Regions from separate parts of the Homo sapiens genome. Here all the other regions are linked to region 3. The links are contacts of gene promoters, found by promoter capture Hi-C in blood cells and fetal thymus (Javierre and others, 2016). All regions are on one chromosome and are shown on one strand. Each heading gives the region's core, a stretch centred on a gene start or on the middle of the fragment in contact. The rest is flanking DNA. Distances are from core to core; before and after follow the strand shown. Region 1 overlaps LOC107985827 (a long non-coding RNA gene). Region 2 overlaps ORC4 (origin recognition complex subunit 4). Region 3 holds the start of MMADHC (metabolism of cobalamin associated D). Region 4 overlaps ACVR2A (activin A receptor type 2A). Region 5 overlaps ORC4 (origin recognition complex subunit 4). Region 6 has its middle 51 kb from the start of RBM43. Region 7 overlaps ACVR2A (activin A receptor type 2A).

Region 1 (3,221 bases), core at 448-2,947, 1.7 Mb before region 3:
CCTGTAATCCCAGCACTTTGGGAGGCTGAGGTGGGCAGATCACCTGAGGTCAGGAGTTCGAGACCAGCCTGGCCAACATGGTGAAACCCCGTCTCTACTGAACATACAAAAAAAATTAGCTGGGTCTGGTGGCAGGCGCCTGTAATCCCAGCTACTTGGGAGGCTGAGACAGGAGAATCGCTTGAACCCAGGAGGTGGAGGTTGCAGTGAGCCGAGATGGCGCCGTTGCACTCCAGCCTGGGGGACAAGAGCAAGACTTTGTCTCAAAAAACAAAAATAAAAACAAAAACAAACAAAAAACAAACAAACTGAAACTCTATGCTCATTAAACAATAACTCCCCATTCACTCCTTCCCTCATCCCCTGGCAACCACCATTCTATTTCCTCTGTAAATTGGATTATTCTAGGTTCCTTATATAAATGGAACCACACAATACTTGTCCTTTTGTAGATGACTTATTTCACTTAGCATAATGTCCTCAAGGTTCATACATAATCTATTCTATACCAGACTTTCCTTCCTTTTTAAGGCCAAATAATACTCCATTGCATCTATATGGCACATTTTATTTATTGACTCATCTAACTAAAATTATTTTGATAAGAATCCTGTAGCCCATAGATCCATTAAGGCCACAGACTTCTTTTGGGCCTGCAAAAGTCACCACTGTATCACTTAAAAGTTTCCCAACATTTCCTGATTTTGTTTGACAGCCTAGAATTCTTTGAGATGCTTTTTATTCTCAGACATAGCTGCTGTTCTTTCAGGGATCAGGGTATCTTAGGGCCAGGGCTGTGGTTAAATAGGAAGAAGGGTAAGATCAAGGCCACAAGTAGGTTAATATTACCTTATTCAACAAGTATTCACAGGTCACTCTTTTTGGAAAACACCACCTTAGTTGCTTTGGTAGCTACTCTATATCACAATGGCCAGGTGGCCTTTGGGTGGACAGAGTGATATAATTTGTAAATCAATGGGCTTGACACTACTTAGACTCTGGGCTTAATAACCAAGATAGACTCTTACAGAGAAGTTGTGCTTTTCACACACATGCAGGCATTTCCACAAGTCAAGAAACAGCAGAAGATACTGGACGCGGTGGCTCACGCCTGTAATCTCAGCACTTTGGGAAGCCAAGGTGGGCAGATCATGAGGTCAAGAGATCAAGACCATCCTGGCCAACATGGTGAAACCCCCATCTCTACTAAAAATACAAAAACTACCTGGGCGTGGTGGCGCGTGCCTATAGTTCCAGCTACTCAGGAGGCTGAGGCAGGAGAATCGCTTGAACCTGGGAGGCAGAGGTTGCAGTGAGCCGAGATTGTGCCGCTGTACTCCAGCCTGGGTGACAGAGTGAGACTCCATCTCAAAAAAAAAAAAAAGAAACAGCAGAAGATGGACAAGAGACTCTGCCTCCCATCTTCCCTTCACAACTCACCCTCCTTACCCCAACTACCTCCTTCCGGTGGCTTGGTTTTGAGGCCATGTTGTAAATTAGCTGCAAAAGAAGACCAGGGAAGACGTTTCTCCTACACCTTGCAAGCCCCCCTGTATTTTCAGTATTTCTGGTAAGGACCTCACCACATGTGGTGCAGAGCATGGTGCTATGCAGAATGATGTAGAGAGAATGAATTTTCCCTTTCCAGACACATTTTATGTTATCACTGTTGTCAAAGCAGATGAAAAATCAGGTTGCCGCTGAGTCACAGCCTCCACAATGGCACACCCCCTCTCCTCCATGTGTCCAGAGAACTGATGTAATTTCTTAAGAGATTTCTCAGGAAAACGTGATTCTTTCTGTGTATCTCCCAGTAATGTTACTTTGGTTTATGCTCATAAAAGCATAGGTTGGCTGTAATCTTAATTAGCCCTCACTGAACAATATTTTTCTTATTTTTTTCCTAGGGTTTTCTTCAGTAACCATATCTAATTTTTTTGTCATAGCAGTGTGCCCCAAGAAAAAGTTTCAGACAGCAGAAACAGATCTAAAGATTAATAGCATATAAAAGATTTTCTACTTTTTTTCCCAAAAAGTGAAGCTAATCTGAATGAAATATAAGAAAGTGTAATTTTTCTAGACGTTTATGTCTGTACCACAGCAGGGGGGTTCCCTTGTAAATGAGTTATCTTTTTTTTCCAAAAAGAAGTTTATTGCAAGGAGGCTTATTAACTAGTCCTGGGAGTTGATGAAAGTCCCATCTCTTTGCCTGGGGTGTGTAACTCAGTGGGAGTCAGTTCCACACGGAGTTTTGGTGGCGATGATCTCACTATTTTATACCTCATGTCTACACTTTAGTTTATGTAAAAAAGTTCCTTTCCCTGATGAAAAATGTCCCGTCTGTGACAAAGTTGTTCTTGCCTTTTCGTGTGTCCTTTTTTCCTCCCAGTTGGACATGAATCACACTCTTCATATTTTGGTATGTAGTAGTTATTAATTAATTCAACCAGTTGAAGACAGTCCCATGCCAGATTGTTACTGGCACTTGTTATTTGACATCTGTGGGTACAACTGGTAATGAGCAGGCTTTATCTGAAATCCTCAGTCAGCAGCACAATATTCCAGGAGATGGGACCATCACAGCTAGCATGCACGCCCTGCTGCTTTCTGCCTCCCACCTAAAGGCTAGGAGATGGCCACATAGATGCAATGATCTAGGGCTAATAAAGTATGGGCTTCCCTAAAGTTGCTTCCTTACTGGACTACTAGAATAACATTAAAGTTAATTTAAAAATTTCTAATTGATATATAATATTTGTACCTTTTTATAGGGTTCATATATTTTGTTACAGGCATAGAATGTATAATAATCAAGTCAGGGTATTTAGGGTATTTATATTTTTGTACTGAGAACATTTCTTTCCAGTATTTATTTATTTGTATTTCTTTGTACTGGGAACATTTCAAGTCCTCTCTTCTAGCTAATTTGAAATATACAATACAATGTTAACTGTAGTCACCTATTCTGCTATAGAACATTAGAACTTATTTTTTCTATCTAACTGTATATTTGTACCCATTAACTAACCTCTTTCCATCCCTGCCACACTCTTCTCAGCCTGTGGTAACTACCATTCCACTCTCTACCCCTGTGAGATCAACGCTTTTAGCTCCATGTATGAGTGAGAACCTGCAATATTTGTCTTTCTGTGCCCGGCTTATTTCTAAAGATAATTCTTTAGGTTAATATTTTAGCTCTGTAAAATTTCATTTAAACTAGA
Region 2 (3,178 bases), core at 16-2,515, 1.6 Mb after region 3:
CAAACCATAGCAAAGTTGTCTCTTTTCTCATGCTATGACTGCCATGCCTCCATAGCTTTCTTGCAATCCTCTTCCCCCTCCATTCTCGGCAGATGTGTCAGGCACATTTACATGTTCACATCTCCTTTCCTACAACCCTTTTTCTTTTTCAGAAAAGTGAAACTTTTTTCTAATTCATATTTCAACAGTCCTCCTTCCAGTGCTGTTTCTCTATAGAGTGACTGTCATTTGCCCCTCCTTTCCTGTGCTCTAGAGCTTATGATACATGGCTTTAGTATAAACATCCCTCATACATCACTGGCTGGTGCTCCACATATCTTTATTCCTCCTTGCCAAAAGCAGCAGGCGATGACAAGGATCAAAGAAGCATCCTCCTTCTTGCCAAAAAAAAAAAAATCTTCCTTTGGGTGGAAGTGGCTGTGGTGAGTGTTGTTGACCCAATAACGGACCAAATAAAATGCCAGTAACTTCTTAGCAGTGTTATCAGATGTTCTTTTTTATTGTATATATATAATTCTCCAACTGTGTAGTTCTTTCAAGTGTAATTTTTTTTCTTTTTCTTTTTTTTTTTTTTTGAGATGGAGTCTTGCTCTGTCGCCCAGGCTGGAGTACAATGGCATAATCTCGGCTCACTGCAACCTCCACCTTCGGGGTTCAAGCAATTCTCCTGCCTTAGCCTCCCGAGTAGCTGGGATTACAGCCACACACCGCCATGCCTGGCTAATTTTTGTATGTTTAGTAGAGATGGGGTTTCACCATGTTGCCCAGGCTGCTCTCGAACTCCTGACCTCGTGATCTACCCCCCTTGGCCTCCCAAAGTGCTGGGATTACAGGCGTGAGCCACTGCGCCTGGCCTCAAGTATAATTTTATCTGTGTATCCACGTTTATAGGGAGAGAACAAAAGTATAGAGGGAGTAGTGACTTTGCCAGCAAGCATCTTCTTCCCCATTGGGAGTAATTCCATTTTTGTTTTTTGGTTTTGTTTTGTTTTTACTAGTTCCTGTATGCCCACATTGCCAACTTCTGTCATTACTGCCTACTACAAAGACAGTATTTACTTCCATCTCTTTTCATTCCCAAATTTAGGGTCTGAATTGTTGCTTGTATAGATTATTACTTCCACTGTCTACCTATATGGGTGACCTAGAACTCTTTCTTAATAGAAAATAAATGTACAATATCTGAATCTCTGAATATAACCTTTCTTGTCTTTTAGTTCTCATGCTGGCACTATACTTTTCTTTGACCTCATAAAAACATTCAAAATTTTTTATTCACCCTCCCACCTCCTACCTCAGGCTATTAGTCTTTCCTGTCCACCTTCCCAAACTAACCATGATCCCATTTTGATCACTTGAATTCTTTCCTCTATATCATGATTTCTTCACGTAGGTATTATGAGAGTCATCTGGCTAGATGTGGAGATGTATATTTCTGGGCTTAAACTACTCCCCTTTTAAAAATCTTTATAACATTTCAACAATATACATAGGAAAGAATAAATAATGAGCCCTGAATTCCCTTCTCCACTCATTGCCAAGATTCAATTACTACAGACTAATTTTATTTATCCTCAACATCTCCTTTCATTCCTGTATTATTTTGAGGCAAAAACTAGGTATTATATCATTTTATCAGTAAGTATTTTAGAATGTATTTTTAGGAGATAAGAGCTCTTTAAAAATATATTTCCCTAATATAATTGTTATATTAGCTGTAATTCCTTAAAGTCATCAAATATCATGTCACTGTTTTTAAAACAGCTTTATTGAGATGTAATTTATACCATACAACTCACTCATTTAAATTATACAATTAACAGGGTTTTTGTTTATTCATAGAGTTGTGCATTTATCACCACAGTTTAAGAGCCACGTACCTTTTAGTGATCACCCCAAATCCCCTGTTCCCTCCCCAGCCCTATGCAACCACTAATCTGCTAATCCACTTTCTGACTGTTTAGTAATTTTTGAATCATACAACGTATAGTTTTGTGTGACTGGCTTCTTTAACATGTTTTCAGAGTTGATCTGTGTTACAGCATATATCAGCCCTTTATTCCTTTTTATTACCAAATAATATTCTGTTGTGTAGATATACCACACTTTGTTTATCCATTCATCAGTTGATGGACATTTGGGTTGTTTATATTTCTTAAGCTATTAAAAATAATACTGCTGCAAACATTCACATACACTTTTTTTGTGGTTATCTGGTTTCATTTGTCTTGGTTGTATACCTTGGAGTGTAACTTAAGTAATAAATATATATTATACTATACTGTATATATATAGATGTATATATACATATATAATATAAATTATATATATTATATATAATATGCTGTGTACTATAATATATTTTGAAAAATTGCTCAAGTTCATTATTAAAAAGAGATTTAGGAATGACAGTTCCTGCAATATATGTGACTTAGGAAGACAGCTTACCTATTGTGCTTTTGATGTCTTGGATAGTTTGAATGCCTATCAGTTTTGTGGAAGTATTTTCTTCATTTAAGAACACTTCGTATGTCCTTACAAGCAGTACATATTAGTTATCCTTTGGTTTTTAGTGTTCTTTGACAGTAAATTTGATTCCTGATTTCTTTTTAAGGAAAAATAGCACAAATACAAATAGAGTCTAAAAGCATTACTATAAAAAAAAAAAAGCCGGAAGATAACTTACGAATGCCATGTTGCATTTCTGCCACTTTCCTCTCCTAAAGTTGGTTCCTGCTGCCTATCATGCTATTAATTTTTTAATCTCAGTTCTTCATAGAATGTACAGAATTCCTTATTGACACTCTTGGTGTTATTGTGACATATAGCTATTCAATATTGTCAGTTTTTTTAAACAGTCATGTTGGGTCTTGGAATGTTACAGATTAGCTGAGAGTAACATGGTGGGAAAAAGGCATGACATCACCAAGCCAGCAAATGCCTGGAGGTGGATTATTTAGTTTGCATAAAATGTTTTAAATGTTTAATTATGTATTGTAGACTAAACATTACTAATTATAGGTGATAGTTTACTTATACCTCTAACATTGGTACAGTGTTTTTGTTTTTTTAAAAACATTCATCTTCCTTATAGAGATTTCTGTTTGTTTTTAAGGATATTTTGGAACTCTTAGAAAAAAGAGTGAAGTCAAGATTTTCTCACCGGCAGATACACTTA
Region 3 (3,351 bases), core at 708-3,207:
GATTGTGGCAAAAGATTACAACTGTATTACGAGCATATAAAATAACTTCACTGAGGCCGGGTAGAGGTAGGAGGGAGGGCTGCTGACTTCAGTAACTTTGAAAATAAGTGGAATCTATAAGATTAAAAGCAAAAGAACTATACATAAGCATTGTACTCTAATTGGTAAATCTGTTTCTCACAGGTATACCTGATAACAGTTCAGAAACAACTATACATGTACTCTGAATACGGGTTGACGGTTCTGAATCCATTATACACGTAACCTGGAATTGAACAATTAGGTAAATGGATGGCAGATGATGAGAGCCAGGTGTCTCACACTGGAGTGGAAGGCTACAGACAAGCAAGGGGAGAAGGCTGCAATGATCCATATGGTGCTGGAATTGAACTGAAGATAACAGCTCTAGTATTTGAACCTAGAACGCCTGTGTAGCTGTCAAAGATACAGATGGATACATATATAAATACTTACAGATATGCGTATTTAGTCAGGTTAGCATATCCACAAATATTTCCTTGCTCTGTCAGCTGAGAGTGTCTAGAAGCAACAACATCCCAAATGTCCAAATCTTGATTTCTAATATCATTTTCCATTAAAAGTACCCTTGGCTTTTTGGGGAAGCAGCTGATTCTAGGATTGGGGCAGGGAATATACAAGATGAGCCTGGAGCAACTTATAGAAATTAAGAAAATGCTCAAGAAAAAAAATCAATAAACATAAAACGAGGAGGGTTTGTCAAAAAGACACAAATGCCAACTAAAGGAAATCTCAATAGCCAAAGCTGGAACCAATATGAACAACAAAATAAAGTAGTATTGGATTATAACCCAAAATGTAAAATAAATATCCATGAGTCCATACTGACATAAATGATTGAATACATAAATAAATGCAGTACAGACAAATCTCCCATGCAGAAGAATTCCAAATAATTCATGAAGATATTCTGTCCTCATAAAGGTGGAGTATAACAATTTCCCATTCCTATAGTTTGGGCTGCACAGAGAGATGTCCTTCCAAATAGTATAGTATGGAGAGGAAAAGAAAAACAGTAACTTCACAGTGGAGAAACCTGACAAACCCTACATAGGGAGGTGGAAGGGCTTACTAGATGAAACAAAGGGGATCTTTGTAGAACTATAAAACTTTTCTGTATGACACTGTAATAATGGTGATAAAGGTTAGCATCAACAGTAATAAGTCATGTTGATAGTATATACCCTTGATGTGATGTGATGAGAAGATCACTTTACCTTACCTCTTAACTCAAGAAAAACCCATAACCTCAGTTAATGCATGAGAAAAATACAGGCAAAACCCAATTGAAGGACATTTGACCAAATGACCAATAAGTCGCTTCAAAACTATTAAGGTTATCAAAAACAAGGAAAGTTTGAGAAACGGTCACGGTCCAGAGGAGCCTGGAAGACATGGTGATGTACTCCGGACAGGATCCTGGAATGGAAAAGAATACCAGGTCGAAAACTAAGGACATCTGGAATAAAATATGGGCTTATGGGCTTTAATCAATTTTTAAAAAAGTATTAGATACATGAAAATGATACACGATTTACAAATCAATCGCCTAATATTTATCGAGCATATTGAGAGCCTGGCACTGTGGTAGGGCTGGGGACACAGAAAGAGGTAAGTGCCCTATGCTCAAAAACAGCGATTCATGAAAAATAAACAACTATGACAAAAAGAACAGAAGACTGTATCTCCTGGAGGCAGTAAGGAAGGCTTAAGTTGGGAGGACTATCAAACGCATCAAGGAGTTACTGAAGATTAACTGACCCGCCTAACGCAGGTCGGAAGCCCTCCTATCCATCCACCCAAATCACCCCTGCCCCACCTTTTCTCCTCCCTTGCGTTTACCCAATGGCAGGTCGGCTCCACGTAGGCCTACTTTGCGCGTGCGCATCATCGTTTCGACGCGCTCGGAAGCAACTTCCTTTGCCTGCTCACCGCCAGCGTAGGTGCTACCACCGCTGCCGTCGCCGCCGCCATTTTGATGGCAGGAAGAGTCCGGTTCTGGGACAGCTGGAGACAGTGGTGGTGACTGGTACGGATGGTTTCCGCCCATGTTAGCCCCTCCAAATTTGCCCGTGTTAGGGTTACAGCCCTCGGTATTGCCCGTATTTTCACTGGGTCCCTGTCGTTGTCCCCAGCCATCCTGTCCGTCTGTCTTTAGTCTCTTTTCTGCTTCCTCATCTTTCCGATCAGCCTGAAGCTTTGCTTGGAGCTGTTGTTACGCAGCCCCAACTTCTGTTAAAGCAGCCGCTTCGATCCTCTGGACTGAATTTTGGCCACCCAGCCCCCATTCCCCTCCCGGATCTGGTCCGAGTTGTTTTTCCGCGGCTGTAAACCGGAAGGGCTCTGAGCTGCACTGCCGGCTCCGGGCTGGGGGATCTGTGCCTGGCATGGGGGCGAGTTCTGGCCTCCTTAGGGTACGGGGAGAGCTTGGACTTTGGTCCTGACGTGGTGGACGACACACCTTCGAAGAGTGGACGTTACCTCAGTTGTCTGTTGTTAGAGTTTAATCGATCACTCGTCTGTTTTGTTGTGTTCTTTCCCAGAAATAACTTTACCAAAGGAAAGCTATTTTGCGAACTATCTTCTCCAGCGGAGATGGCCAATGTGAGTAAATTATCTCTTAAGAATCAGCATAGTAAACTCGTTTGGGAATGTTAGGAATGAAAGAACGGGTTTAATTATGATGGCATTGGGTGGTATAGTGTTAGATATAATGTATCAAAAATGTCAAGGGAAGCAAGTGGTGTGAAATTATGTTATGCTTTGAAGATGGTAGCATTCTTTGCACTGCAAATACACTTATTTATACAATTTCATTTGTACAGATGTGGAAATTCAAGCACCCTTTCGGTATTTTTTAAATACAGCGTTTCAGTAAATATTAGAATCTATGTTTAGGCCCTTTTTTAGCTTTTGGGTTAGCTAAACTGAAGGGTTTTTTTAATCTTTTTTTCTTTTTTTTAAAACAGTTTCCATATTGGAAGTGACCTTCTAAATCCTACAAAATAAGAATAGGAGATACTCTCACACACCAGAGATATTTATTGACTGTAACTTTGCAGTGATTAGACACATCCTATCTATAGAATTCATATGTAGCGGTCATAAGACATATATAAAAACAGCTACAATTAAAGTATAAAGTAATAATTTTTTTTAGAACCTACACGAAGGTGCAATGCAGATTCAAGTCTTTGTGGAGAGGAGTTTGGGATCACTTCATGAGGGAAACATTTAACTTGAGGTTTGAAAGATAGGTGGGATTTGTATAGTCTAAAATATGAGCGGGAAGGACAGGAAGGTATATTCAAA
Region 4 (3,455 bases), core at 348-2,847, 1.7 Mb after region 3:
TACCACAAGTTCTCACAAGTGAAAGCTAAATGATGGGAAGACATGGACACATAGAGGGGAACACTGGGGCCTATGGGAGGGAGGAGGGAGAGGATCAGGAAAAATAACTAATGAGTACTAGGCTTAATACCTGGGTGATAAAATAATCCATAAAACAAACCCCCATGACACAAGTTTACCTATGTAACAAACCTGCAGGTGTACTCCTGAACTTAAAATAATTTTTTTTTTAAGTCGCATGTATATATGTTTATGTGAGTATGCTTGGGCTTGTGTGTGTAGCCTCTGATCCTTACTCAAATCTTTGAGGTAGGTACTATAAAATAGAAACTAAGGTAATGAAATTTTCCCAAGTTCACATGATATTCCATACTGTGGTAGACAGGCACAACACCCAGGTTTTCTCCTGGCAGAATGTTTGCTCTTTCTACTATATCAACCCAAAGATCTGCATAATTAATTACTTTCATTGAATCTGAAGATAAAGCAAGTGTTAGGGGTTTTTTTGTTTTTTTTTTTTTTTTTTTAAAGAAAACCATTCTTGCCAACAAACGGCTACATATGTACCAACAAAATGAGCTTTTATTTCTATTAACCAGCCCTAACTGACAAATAACGTTTCAATGGTTCTATTATCTATAACAGAGTAGGCTCCTCTACTCTTCTGTGCTCTGGCTTAGTGAGCTGATTTCCTTCCATCACAGATGCAAGGCTAGATATTAATTACAAAAATACTGTCTAATTGAGGACTGCTAAATATATGTTGCTAGACTAACTAGAAACTACAGTTCTTGATGTGGGGATATTCTAGGGATACAATAGTGAAAAATAAGATCTGCAGGTAAAAAGTCAAAACTACTCTTCAATGATTCAAAAGGAAAATAAAGTATAACCACCCTTCTTCTCTGACCCTAACCTTTTACTTTTACTCCATCCTTCAGAAGTGAGGATCAGCTTGAGTAGTTTATTCTTCCTAAGCATCATTCCGATAAAGGTAGTTACTGGAGAAAATAGTACCTGACAGTTTGTTAGGCCCTCCCAGCAGTAAAAGCTTGCTAATTTAATTTCCTCTATTATTTCTAACCCTCTCAGCTAATAAGCAATCTCTATTTACATTTTAACAAAAACTACAATTAGCAATTAATTTCCTAATTCAACACCCAAACCAAGTATATGTATCTCTAAAGAACTGAGGAGGAAAATAAGTAAAGATTACCAAGAAAGATTTGTTATATAATATAGAATTAAAAAGATGGTCAGTGGCTATTCAACCATTTTTCTGGCCATTCAGAAAGGTGTTTTATTCTACTTTGAATGCCCACTAATCAAATTGCTTTACTATTACCATATCCGTCTTGTATATGTTATCTTGCAATTATTCATTATTTATCATCGTCCTCATTTACTCATTGACTTTTCATTTCTCCTCATATAATTTTAGTAATTATTACAAGTTCATTTTGAGTCTTAGGTTATATAAAATTAATTAGCAAACTGTATTCACTAATCCTGAAGTATGAAACTCCACTACCAGGTAAAAGAAAGGCCTAGCATCCAGTTCTTCTTCTAGAACTATTTTACTTAAGGTAATAATAAATAAAATGACCTATAGTATTTATAGGGTAAAACTGAACTTTATAGAAGGTGGCTTATCAAAGATGGTTAGCTTTATCTGCTTCCAAAATGAAAAAATCCAAGTGAAACCAGATGAAAAGAGGCAGGCACCATTATATTTTTTAAATTCAGTAAAGTTTAACATCTCTTCTGGTTTTACCTGTGTGTAATAATGCAGTTTTTCCTAGGCACAGATGCTACAGCTGAACTTCTGCCATAATAAAGAGCTTATTTCCCTGTGCCAAGCACCACCTCTTTACCACCAACAGGAGAGGATTGAAATCTTTCCAGATAAAAACATTCAAGCTGAATACCTAGAGTTAGAGGCTGCAGCCCTGAGTAAAACTAATAGCCTAAAGTATTAAGTATTCATCCTTTCAGCCTTTATTGTAAGACCTTGATAACCTGAAAAGATATCAAATTTCTAAGAATTAAGATATAAAATACACTGAGTTTCTACTTCTGAATCTTCAACCATACCAACAATATAGTATATTACATCTGAAACAATAAAGAGGTGGTAAGCTTATGAAAAAAATAGACACCTGAAAAGGAGTAAAGCCAATTTCAGAGAGAAATAGGAATGCTTAAATAAGAATATATATAAATTAGCAAATGTACAAAATCTAAAGATAGAAATTTGTTACAAAAATTCAATAACCTCTAGTCTGCGTTTCATTATTTCTTTTTTCTGAGAATTTGTATTCAAAGTTCACATATGCACAAGAAGCCTATCCATTCATGTTTTTTTTTTAAGCAATGACAAGTAGGAAAAAAAATAAGATGACTAAAATAAGATACAAAAGGAAGACTGATAAGTGTAGGCAAGCTTTACAATACAATCAGAGAATGTTCAAAGCTGGAAGGGATCTAGGAGAGTCTCTCTAGCTTACACTGATGCAACAGGTTCCTAATGGTCTCACCTCTTCCCTCCTACACTCTTCCAGTATGTTTTTCAGATAGCTGCCAAAGTGATCTCAACACATAACCCAGATCTGCTCTTCCTTAAAACTCTTTGCTTCACACTGCCATTTGCATTTTATTCTAACTCCTTCCCCTGTTACATCAAAGACCTGCATGATCCTGTCCCTATCTCTCCAGTCCCATCACTGCATTCATTGCTTCAGGCAGCTAGTTAAATATTCACTGAGCTTCGCCTCTGTGCCAGAAACTGTGCCATGCATTGGAAGTATTAAGAAAAAGTCACACCCTTCCCCACCCCAGTAGAGCTTACATTCTAATATTAGAAAGGACAAATAAGAAATAGGCCAGGCGCGGTGGCTCACACCTGTAATCCCAGCACTTTGGGAGGCCAAGGAGGGCAGATCACTTGAGACAGGAGTTCGAGACCAGCCTGCCCAACATGGTTAAACCCCCTCTCTACCAAAAATACAAAAATTAGCCAGGCATGGTGGCGCATGCCTGTAGTCCCAGTTACTCAGGAGGCTGAGGCAGGAGAATCACTTGAACTGGAAGGCTGGGGTTGTGGTAAGCCAAGATTGCACCACTGCACTCCAGCCTGGCCAACAGAGCGAGACTCAGTCTCAAAAAAAAAAGAAATAGGCAGATAAAGTAAACAGATGTGATATGTGATAAGGCAAATAAAGAGTAATCCTCTCGGCACCCTGTTAGTTTCTGTCCGAGCACGTATGACAATCTGTAATTATGTTGTTCATTTGACTACTTACTTTATGACTATAAGCTTCAGAAAGGCATAATCATATCTGTCTTCATGTTTAATAATGTATCCCAAGCACTTACCATAGTGTCTAGCATGTAGTTCAATATTGATTTGTTAAGTGAATGAATACCTATTTCACCCTCTTTAATTTAGGGTGAGT
Region 5 (3,023 bases), core at 98-2,597, 1.6 Mb after region 3:
TGTGCCCAACTGAAGTCTTTGATCTTAATAATCTAATTTGTCAGTTTTTTCTATCATGTATTATGATTTTGGTATTGTATCTGAAGCTTCATCACCAAACCGAAAGTCATGTAGATTTTTTCCTATGTATCTTCTACAAGCTTTATAGTTTTGCATTTTATATATAGGTCTGTGATTCATTTTGAGTTAATTTTTGTGAAAGATGTAAGGTCTGTGTTTAGATTCGTTTTTTTTTCTTTTTTTTTTTTGCAAATGAATGCCCAATTGGAGAAAGACTATCTTTTATCCATTGAATTGCCTTTGCTTCTTTGTCAAAGATCAGTTGACTATGTTTATGTGGTTCTGTTTTTAGGTTCTCTTTCTATTCCCTTGCTTTGTCTGTCTTTTGCCAATATCACATTGTTTTGATTACTGTAGATTTTTAGTGAGTCTTTAAGGTAAGTACTGTCAGTCTTCTGACCTCGTTCTTCTGCAGTATTGTGTTGGCTGTCTGCATACTTTGCCTTTTCATATTAACTTTAGAATCACTTTGTACATATCCAGAAAATTCTGGGAATCTTTGTGAATTGCTAGATTTTGAGTTAAATTTATACATCACAATAGGAAGAATGGACATCTTAACTATATTTAGTCTTCCCGTTCTTGGAGTATCTATTTATTTAAGACTTTTGTCAGTTTTTGTAGTTTTCTTAATAAAGATCTTACACATGTTTCGTTAGATTTATACCTAATTTTTCATTTTTTTGGTTCTAGTGCGAATAGTACTGTGTTTTTTATTTCCTTTTCTAAGTCTTCATTGCTAGTAGATAGCTAAACACTTGGCTTTTCTATATTTGCTTGTATTCTGCAACCTTGCTATAATTGCTTCTCAATTCCATTAGTTTTTTTGTCAGTTCTTTGAGATTTTTTTACTTAGACAGTTATGTTATCTGTCAACAAAGACAGTTTTAATTATTCCTTCCCTATCTCCATACTTCTATTCCTTTTCTTCTTTTATTGCATTAGTTATTCATAGACTATGTCTAACAGTTAATCATAAAATTCACTAATACTCTGCATACTGATTTAGTATAAATTTAGAGGGTATTGTTCACTAAAGAATAATATTCTTTTATTTTTGAATATTCTTTCATTTTTTCTTATGATTAGAAAAAATGAATATCCAATATTAGAATATTCAGTTCTTAAATCTTTGTTTTCATTTTTCCATGTCTACCATCTTTTTCATGTTTTTTCCCCCTCTCTCAGCATTCTGTCATATGGCCAATGTGATTTTCTTTACTGCCAGTGCTGTCATTTGCTTCTTCTAATCTGATATTGCATTTCAGTTTTCTAAGAATCTTTTCTTCTTGTCTAAGTCTGGCTTAAATAGCTCAAAACATTTATTTCATAAAATAGTCATTTTAGGTAGTAATTAACCTTTTTATACTTTATTTTTAAATTGACTCATAATAATTATACACTTTCATGGGATATATAGTGATGTTTTGATGCATATAGTGTATAGTGATCAAATCAGAATAATTAGCATATCAATCATCTCAAACATTTATCATTTATTTATGTGGGGAACATCCAGTATCCTTCTTCTAGCTATTGGAAAATATTATTGTTAATTATAGTCATCCTATAGTTACAGAAAAATGATAGTACAACACTGTTACTTACTCCTCCTATCTTGCTGTAATTTTGTGTTCATTATTGAATCTCTCACTATCCCTCCTTTCCTCCTACCCTTCCTACCCTATCCTCTCTTCTACTTTTGACTTCTGTAAGACCTACTTTTCTTGGCTTCCATAGATGAGTGAAAACGCATGGTGTTTAACTTTCTTTTCCTGGCTTATTTCATTTAATATAACTTCTTCCAGTTCCATCTATGTTGCTGTGAATGACAGAATTTCATTTCTTTTTTTAATGGCTGAACAGTATTCCATTGTGTGTATATACACATATTCTTTATCCATTCATCTGTTGTTGGACAACTAGGTTGATCCATATCATGGCTATTGTGAATAGTACAACAATAAATACGGGCTGCAGATGTCTCTCTGATGTAATGATTTCCGTTCCTTTATATAAATTCTCAGTAGTGTGATTGCTGGACCATATGGTAGTTCTATTTGTAGTGGTTTTTGGGGAACCTTTGTACTGTTTTCAATATTGGCTAGTTTACATTCCCACCAATGGTGTATAAAAGTTCCTTTTTTTTGCATCTTCACCAGCATTTATTATTTTTTGTTTTTCTGAAAATAGACATCCTAACTGGAGTGAGATGATACCTCACTGTGGTTTCTATTTGCATTTCCCTGATGATTGATGATGTTAAGCATTTCTTCATGTATTCGTTGGCTATATGTATGTCCTTTCAGAAATGTCTGTTCAGATAATTTGCCTGTTTTTTAAGCAAATTGGTTTTTTGCTTTTGAGATACTGGAGTTCCTTGTGTAATCTGGATATGAATCCCTATGAGATGAATACTTTGCAGATATTTTCATTTATTCTGTAGATTGTCTTTTCATGCTGTTGATTGTTTCCCTTGCTATGCAGAAGCTTTTGAGTTTGATGTTAGCAGATTTGTCTATTTTTTTATGTTGTCTGTGATTTGCAGTTTTTATTCATAAGATATTTTCCTAGACTAGTGTCCTGAAGTATTACCCCTATGTTTTCTTCTAGTAGTTTTATAGTTTCAGGTCTTAACATTGAGGTCTTTGATCTATTATGAAATGATTTTTGTACAGGATGAGAGATGGGAATCTAGTTTAATTCTTCTGCATATCCAGTTTTCTCAGCACCATTTATTGAAGAAATTGCCCTTTCCCTGATGAGTGAGTGTTCTTGGCCTTTGTAAAAATCAGTTGGCTGTTGATAAGCAGATTAATTTCTGGGTTCTCTATTCTGTTCTATTGGTCTACATGTCTGTTTTTATGCCAGTACCATGCTGTTTTGGTTACTACAGCTTTGTAGTATATTTGAAGTAAGGCAGTATGTTGACTCCAGCCTTATTCCTTGTGCTCAAGATTGCT
Region 6 (3,509 bases), core at 310-2,809, 1.6 Mb before region 3:
TCATTCACTGCACAATGGTGCAGCATGATGAAATCTCAGGACACCAGGGACAATAAGGGAACTCTACCAATTTTATTTTATGTTTTTTTTACAAAGAGAGATAAAAAAGAATTCAAAGTTAGAATGGCATCAATATTGCAACAGCAATGCTGGAAACTCTAAGATAATGGAGAAATGTCTTCAAAATTATAATAGAAAATGATCTCCAATTTAAAATTATTTGCCCAGCTAATTTATTAATCAAGGTATCCAATGACTATTAAATTTGTAAGTGTCAAGGCTCTACTTTATCACTTTGTTTGCTGAGTAGCATTGCAGAAATAACGTCAGTTCAGGCCCGGCACAGTGGCTCATGCCTGTAATCACAGCACTTTGGGAGGCTGAGGCAGGTGGACCACTTGAGGTTAGGAGTTCCAGACCAGCTTGGCCAACATGGTGAAACTCTGTCTCTACTAAAAATATAAAACTTAGCCGGGCATGGTGGTGCGTGCCTGTAATCACAGCTACTCAGGAGGCTGAGGCAGGAGAATTGCTTGAACCTAGGAGGTGGAGGTTGCAGTGAGCTGAGATCATGACACTGCACTCCAGCCTGGGCAAAACAGTGAGACTGCATCTCAAAAACAGAAAACAAAAAACAAAAAAAAAATACATCAGCTCATTTATCTGTATTTCCTTTTTGTTATCTTTAAATACATTTTAATTGTGGAATAGTTTCAGATTTACAAAACAGTGTGAAGACAGTACAGAGTTCTCATTAGTCCATGCCCAGTTTGCCCTATTATCAACATTTTACATTAGTATAGCATGTTTGTCACAATATAGGAACCAGTATGGATACATCATTATGAACTAAAGTCCATGCTTTATTCACATTTCCTGAGTTTTTACCTAAAGTCCTTTTTCTGCTCCAGTTTCCCATCCAGGAGACCACATTACACTTAGACATCACAACTCCTTAGGCTCCTCCTGATTATGACAGTTTCACAAACTTTCCTTGTTTTTGATGACCCTGACAATTTCAAGGAGTACTGGTCAGGCATTTTGTAGAATGCCCCTCAACTGAGATTTGCCTGATGTTTTTCTGATGATTAGGCTGGGATTATGGGTTTTGAGGAGGTAAAGTGCCAGTCTCATCACATCCTATTAAGGGCGCATGCTATCCACATGACTTATCACTCTTGACGTTTACCAGGAGCACCTCGCTTAGGTGTGTTTATCAGGTTTCTCCACTGTCAAGTTACTCTTTCCCCCGTTTGCTTGCTGTACTTGTTGGAAGTCACGATGTGCAGCCTACACTTGAAGTTGGGAGTTAGGCTCCACTTCCCTGAGGGTGGAATAGCCATACAAATTGTTTGGAATTCTTCTGCATGGTAGATTTATCTTTTCTCTCCCTATTTATTTATTCACTCACTTATTTATACTAGCATTGACTCATGGGTGTTTGTCTTATACTTTGGGTTATAATCCAATATTACCGTATTTATTTTGCTGTACTTTCTTTTTGTAATACTTATTTCAAAGGTGCTATGTCACAGAGACCCAGGATATTCTAGTCGTCTTTCCTCTAATTTATAGCCTTTAGTCTAGATTCTAAAACATATAAAATTAATGTAGTGAAAAAATACTCTTCTACTTGTACACAAGCCACAGACTTTTATTAAAATAAATGCAGTCAGCATTCTCTGTTAGCAATGAAAACTGTTCCGCGGAAAGCATGGCGCCTGTGGAGCTTACGATCTGTTCAGTTACTGTAACGACATTTCTCCTGAATTAGGTCTGGAGAGATGAATTTACGCCGTAGTTAACCAAGCTGCTATGGAACCTGAGGCATTAACATGCTTTTTACTCTACTGATTGTCATTGCACTTATATTCCCATCAAGCAATGTATGTAAGAAAATGTATTTTATTTAATTTCTAAATGACTACAGCAGAGAATTATATTTAGAGTAGACAGAGCTTCTTAGGCAGCCTTACAAAAAAACCAATCTGATGAAGCTGGAAACCATCGTTCTAAGCAAACTATCACAAGGACAGAAAACCAAATACCGCATGTTCTCACTCACAGGTGGGAGTTGAACAACAAGAACACGTGGACACAGGTCGGGGAACATCACACACGGGGCCTGTCGGGGGGTGAGGTGCTGGGGGAGAGATAGCATTAGGAGAAATACCTAATGTAAATGACGAGTTGATGGGTGCAGCAAACCAACATGGCACATATATACATATGTAACAAACCTGCACGTTGTGCACATGTACCCTAGAACTTAAAGTATCATAATAATAATAATAAAAACAACAACAAAAATCCTTAAAAGATTTGGATATTACATTTTGAATATCTCTTTAAAAAATCCATTTGTTGTTTGAACTTTTTTTTTTGAGATGGAGTTTCACTCTTGTTGCCCAGGCTGGAGTGCAGTGGCGTGATCTCAGCTCACTGCAGCCGTTGCCTCCCGGGTTCAAGCAGTTCTCCCCTCAGCCTCCTGAGTAGCTGGGATTACAGGCATGCGCCACAATGCCTGGCTAATTTTGTATTTTTAGTAGACATGGGGTTTATCCACGTTGGTCTGGCTGGTCTCGAACTCCCGACCTCAGGTGATCCACCTGCTTCGGCCTCTCAAAGTGCTGGGATTACAGGCGTGAGCCACAGCACCTGGTTTTTGTTTGATCTTTCTAATTTTTCTACTTGTGATCCTCATGATGTAGACTGTGTATCTGTGTAAATGACTAAGTGCTGAAAACAAAGACTCATAACAAGTCATTTAGCTTGGACAGGTTAAACAGAAACAATGTGAAAGAGTATTAATGATAGCATTAAAGTTATTCCTAACTTTAATGAGAATGTTAGCTTTCATCATTAAGTATGAAGTTTCCTGAGGGTTGCTGGTAGAAGCAATTTATCAAATTTAAGTAATTTTCTTCTATTCTTCTATTAATAAGATTTTTTAAAATTCAAAATTAATGGTACATTTATTAAATACTTTCTCTGGGTTCAAGTGATTCTCCTGCCTCAGCCTCCCAAGTAGCTGGGATTACAAGCATGAGCCACCATACCTGACAGATGTGTGTATTTTTAGTAGAGATGGGGTTTCACCATGTTGGCCAGGCTGGTCTGGAACTCCTGACCTCAAGTGATCTGCCTGCATCAGCCTCACAAAGTGCTGGGATTACAGGCATGAGCCACTGTGCCCAGCCCCCTGTAATCTTTTAATAAAGCCATTAGCATCAGTAGATTTCCTCATGCTGACCATTCTTGTATTATTTGAAAAAACGCTACTTGGTTCATATGACATAGAAGTTATTTGCTCCTTGAGGATTTCATAATACTTTCTTGCAAAACTATCTTGGACTAGTACCTTTACTATGGCACACTGTTTTTTTTTTCCCCCACAACTTTTTACTATTTCTATATTTATAGATGAATTTAGGCTTAATAATTAGTCTTTTAAGTCAATTTTGTTCATTTTAATTTTTCTATATTTTCTATTTTATCTAGATTTTCAA
Region 7 (3,071 bases), core at 65-2,564, 1.7 Mb after region 3:
CATTCAGTATGATATTGGCTGTGGGTTTGTCATAGATAGCTCTTATTATTTTGAAATACACCCCATCAATCCCTAATTTATTGAGAGTTTTTAGCATGAAGGGTTGTTGAATTTTGTCAAAGGCTTTTTCTGCATCTATTGAGATAATCATGTGTTTTTTGTCTTTGGCTCTGTTTATATGCTGGATTACATTCATTGATTTGCGTATATTGAACCAGCCTTGCATCCCAGGGATGAAGCCCACTTGATCATGGTGGATAAGCTTTTTGATGTGCTGCTGGATTCGTTTTGCCAGTATTTTATCCAGTTAGAATGGCAATCATTAAAAAGTCAGGAAACAACAGGTGCTGGAGAGGATGTGGAGAAATAGGAACACTTTCACACTGTTGGTGGGACTGTAAACTAGTTCAACCATTGTGGAAGTCAGTGTGGCGATTCCTCAGGGATCTAGAACTGGAAACACCATTTGACCCAGCCATCCCATTACTGGGTATATACCCAAAGGACTATAAATCATGCTGCTATAAAGACACATGCACACGTATGTTTATTGTGGCATTATTCACAATAGCAAAGACTTGGAACCAACCCAAATGTCCAACAATGATAGACTGGATTAAGAAAACGTGGCACATATACACCATGGAATACTATGCAGCCATAAAAAATGATGAGTTCATGTCCTTTGTAGGGACATGGATGAAATTGGAAATCATCATTCTCAGTAAACTATCACAAGAACAAAAAACCAAACACCGCATATTCTCACTCATAGGTGGGAATTGAACAATGAGATCACATGGACACAGGAAGGGGAATATCACACTCTGGGGACTGTTGTGGGGTGGGGGGATGGGGGAGGGATAGCATTAGGAGATATACCTAATGCTAGATGACGAGTTAGTGGGTGCAGCGCACCAGCATGGCACATGTATACCTATGTAACTAACCTGCACAATGTGCACATGTACCCTAAAACTTAAAGTATAAAAAAAAAAAAAAACATAGCTAAAGAAAAACTGCATATGCAAATCATACCGTATTCATTTTTTTATTTAACTTGGGGATGGAATGGGGATAGCATACATTTTATTTGTACAATATTTAACAATCACTTATCCAAGGTGGGGTTTTATGGGGATTTTAAGCTTTCTGTTAAATACTTGCAGAAAAAATAGCAAGTACGATTTGACAGTAGTACAATAACCTGTGCCCAAAACACAAGAAATACAGAGTAAAGCGAAAATAACTGCTTACCAATATTCTGAGAGGTAACAAATGGGATATGGGTTGAGACTGCATAAAAAACGTACTGCTGGTTGAATATCTGAGGTAAATGATGTTCAATCAAGATGCTACTTGTATCATTTTGCCCATAAATGGATAAATAATTTTATGCATATCATACCAAATGTTCCTAAAAAGTAATCTTTCAAAAAAGTATAAAAGAGAAACTGGAAAGTATCTGTGATGAAGCTTCTTTCTTTAAAAAAAAAAAAAAAAACAAAAAAACCAGTAATCAGTTTATTCCACTAAACCACCATCTCGCCATGGTTTTTTTTCCCCTACCACCTGCATTTTACTTAAATGTAGCTGTTACTTAGGGGTGAGGAAATGCAACAGAAGAGATTCTTTTTAAATTTCATGATATGATTCTATTTTAAATTCCAAAGGTGTTGGGTTTTTTCCTGATTGTATTTTCAAAACATCACCATGAAAGATAGATAGTGCAAGTTCATGGGACTAACAATCGTGAAGCACAGTCTCTTTTTCTGGAATTCACAAGGTACCTAGAATTCAAACAAGAATCACACATCACATGCTAAAAAAACTTCTAGCATCTAAAATACATACAAGAGCTGTGCAGGGCATAGACTTCAAATAAAGCCGAACACTGGTTAATCCATCAGTCCTATGGCAAGTTGATCATAAAGCATTCCTTACGCGGAGATCTGGGCAAGGTAAAGAGTATAAGTTAGAGCAGCAGCAGTTCTGATGGGTATCAGAAAGGCAAAATACAAGACGAGTCATGAGGAGCACCATACACATGAGGAAAGAGTTATTTGGGGGGTCTCAGTTTGCCCCAAAATGGATCACCATTTTTCTCATTCTTTGATCTTTTTTTTTTCCAGTATCTCTAGCTCAAACTTTCTGTTAACTTGCCCACTCTGCACTGACTGTAAACCAAACACTAAATACCCTGCAAAAGAAAGTTTTAACAAGACTAGGTATAAGGACAGGTAGTCACTGGAACATTCTTATTTTACTGCTTATAAAAAGTTTTTCTATTAATAATAGTTCTCAAAAGAATACAAGTTTTAAAATTGGTTAGCTACAGTTAAATACAATACCCAGGATTTCTAAAAATTTTTTCTAACTTGAAAACATTTTATATTGTGAATAACTGGGTTTAAAAATTTTATCTCTAGTACTCACATAAGCCAAACATTCATCATAATATCCCTTGTTTATTTTTGTTTAACTTTTAAAAAGAAAGTTAAATGTTCACAACAGGTAGAAATTCATCTTCAGGAAATTAATGATTTTCTTGTATGCACATTCTCAATATTTTCCCTTCTTGATTAGTTTTTAAATGGAAGCAAAACCAGATCAAGAAATTGAGAGACCAAGTACTTTGTGAAATAAAGAGGTGAACTCAACATTGAAAAGGGAATTGCTAGGAATACAATGAATGAGACCATGGGGACACACGTGACAGTTCTGAATGGTCTGCAGCACACAGACGCTATTACTCTTCTTTTCCTCCCTGCTTAAAGTCTGTTGACCTATGTATTGTTTATAAATAACATAATTAATTTACTATTCCCAGAGATTACGTACATATATGTAAAATGTAGTGTACTGTGTGGTTAAATAACCATTTGAAGACAACACATTCACAGTGAGCTCCTGACAGTGACATGTAAAAAATTCTTTTATAAAATTAACATGGATTTTAAAATGACCTGACAGAAATACACAGCATAATACTGGCTATTTGTTGATTAATTGATTGGTAATCTGGAAATTCAGAAAATTAATGTTTTACTTTTTGGCCTGTATAAATTTGA

What was found. Contacts are between HindIII fragments. The CHiCAGO score rates a contact against its expected background, and 5 or more counts as called.
Region 1: a fragment that was not itself captured here is called in contact with the fragment with the promoter of MMADHC in region 3 in 11 of 17 cell types (total B cells, naive B cells, fetal thymus and 8 more); the score reaches 16.1 in total B cells.
Region 2: a contact is called between a fragment that was not itself captured here and the fragment with the promoter of MMADHC in region 3, in 4 of 17 cell types (total CD4 T cells, total B cells, non-activated CD4 T cells and 1 more). The highest score is 6.5, in total CD4 T cells.
Region 4: a fragment that was not itself captured here is called in contact with the fragment with the promoter of MMADHC in region 3 in 1 of 17 cell types (total B cells); the score reaches 8.8 in total B cells.
Region 5: a fragment that was not itself captured here is called in contact with the fragment with the promoter of MMADHC in region 3 in 1 of 17 cell types (total B cells); the score reaches 5.9 in total B cells.
Region 6: a fragment that was not itself captured here is called in contact with the fragment with the promoter of MMADHC in region 3 in 7 of 17 cell types (non-activated CD4 T cells, M2 macrophages, M1 macrophages and 4 more); the score reaches 8.2 in non-activated CD4 T cells.
Region 7: a contact is called between a fragment that was not itself captured here and the fragment with the promoter of MMADHC in region 3, in 4 of 17 cell types (total B cells, naive CD4 T cells, naive B cells and 1 more). The highest score is 8.3, in total B cells.

What each region holds. Positions count from the first base shown.
Region 1 is chr2:151,301,646-151,304,866 of GRCh38, reverse strand. LOC107985827 (a long non-coding RNA gene) reads left to right here. Exons shown (of 3, transcript XR_001739220.1): 3 at 1,059-1,146. Among named protein-coding and RNA genes, the nearest start is that of NMI, 14 kb to the right of the region's middle. The HindIII fragment of the contact is 9,466 bases long and covers 1-3,221 here.
Region 2 is chr2:147,948,162-147,951,339 of GRCh38, reverse strand. It overlaps ORC4 (origin recognition complex subunit 4), which reads left to right. Exons shown (of 14, transcript NM_181741.4): 9 at 3,116-3,178. Among named protein-coding and RNA genes, the nearest start is that of ORC4, 71 kb to the left of the region's middle. The HindIII fragment of the contact is 4,488 bases long and covers 1-3,178 here.
Region 3 is chr2:149,586,381-149,589,731 of GRCh38, reverse strand. MMADHC (metabolism of cobalamin associated D) reads left to right here and starts at 1,957. Exons shown (of 8, transcript NM_015702.3): 1 at 1,957-2,068; 2 at 2,583-2,643. The coding sequence starts at 2,635. MMADHC-DT (MMADHC divergent transcript) reads right to left here and starts at 2,374. Exons shown (of 3, transcript NR_110240.1): 1 at 1,882-2,374. RefSeq lists enhancers at 1,911-2,230, 1,547-2,746. The HindIII fragment of the contact is 5,011 bases long and covers 1-2,238 here.
Region 4 is chr2:147,854,605-147,858,059 of GRCh38, reverse strand. All of the region lies in intron 1 of ACVR2A (activin A receptor type 2A), which reads right to left. Among named protein-coding and RNA genes, the nearest start is that of ACVR2A, 11 kb to the right of the region's middle. The HindIII fragment of the contact is 1,088 bases long and covers 1,054-2,141 here.
Region 5 is chr2:147,967,841-147,970,863 of GRCh38, reverse strand. All of the region lies in intron 4 of ORC4 (origin recognition complex subunit 4), which reads left to right. Among named protein-coding and RNA genes, the nearest start is that of ORC4, 51 kb to the left of the region's middle. The HindIII fragment of the contact is 2,410 bases long and covers 143-2,552 here.
Region 6 is chr2:151,208,676-151,212,184 of GRCh38, reverse strand. No RefSeq gene overlaps it. Among named protein-coding and RNA genes, the nearest start is that of RBM43, 51 kb to the left of the region's middle. The HindIII fragment of the contact is 4,587 bases long and covers 1-3,509 here.
Region 7 is chr2:147,928,789-147,931,859 of GRCh38, reverse strand. ACVR2A (activin A receptor type 2A) reads right to left here. Exons shown (of 11, transcript NM_001616.5): 11 at 1,038-3,071. It overlaps ORC4 (origin recognition complex subunit 4), which reads left to right. Exons shown (of 14, transcript NM_181741.4): 14 at 1-1,464. Among named protein-coding and RNA genes, the nearest start is that of ACVR2A, 85 kb to the right of the region's middle. The HindIII fragment of the contact is 328 bases long and covers 1,151-1,478 here.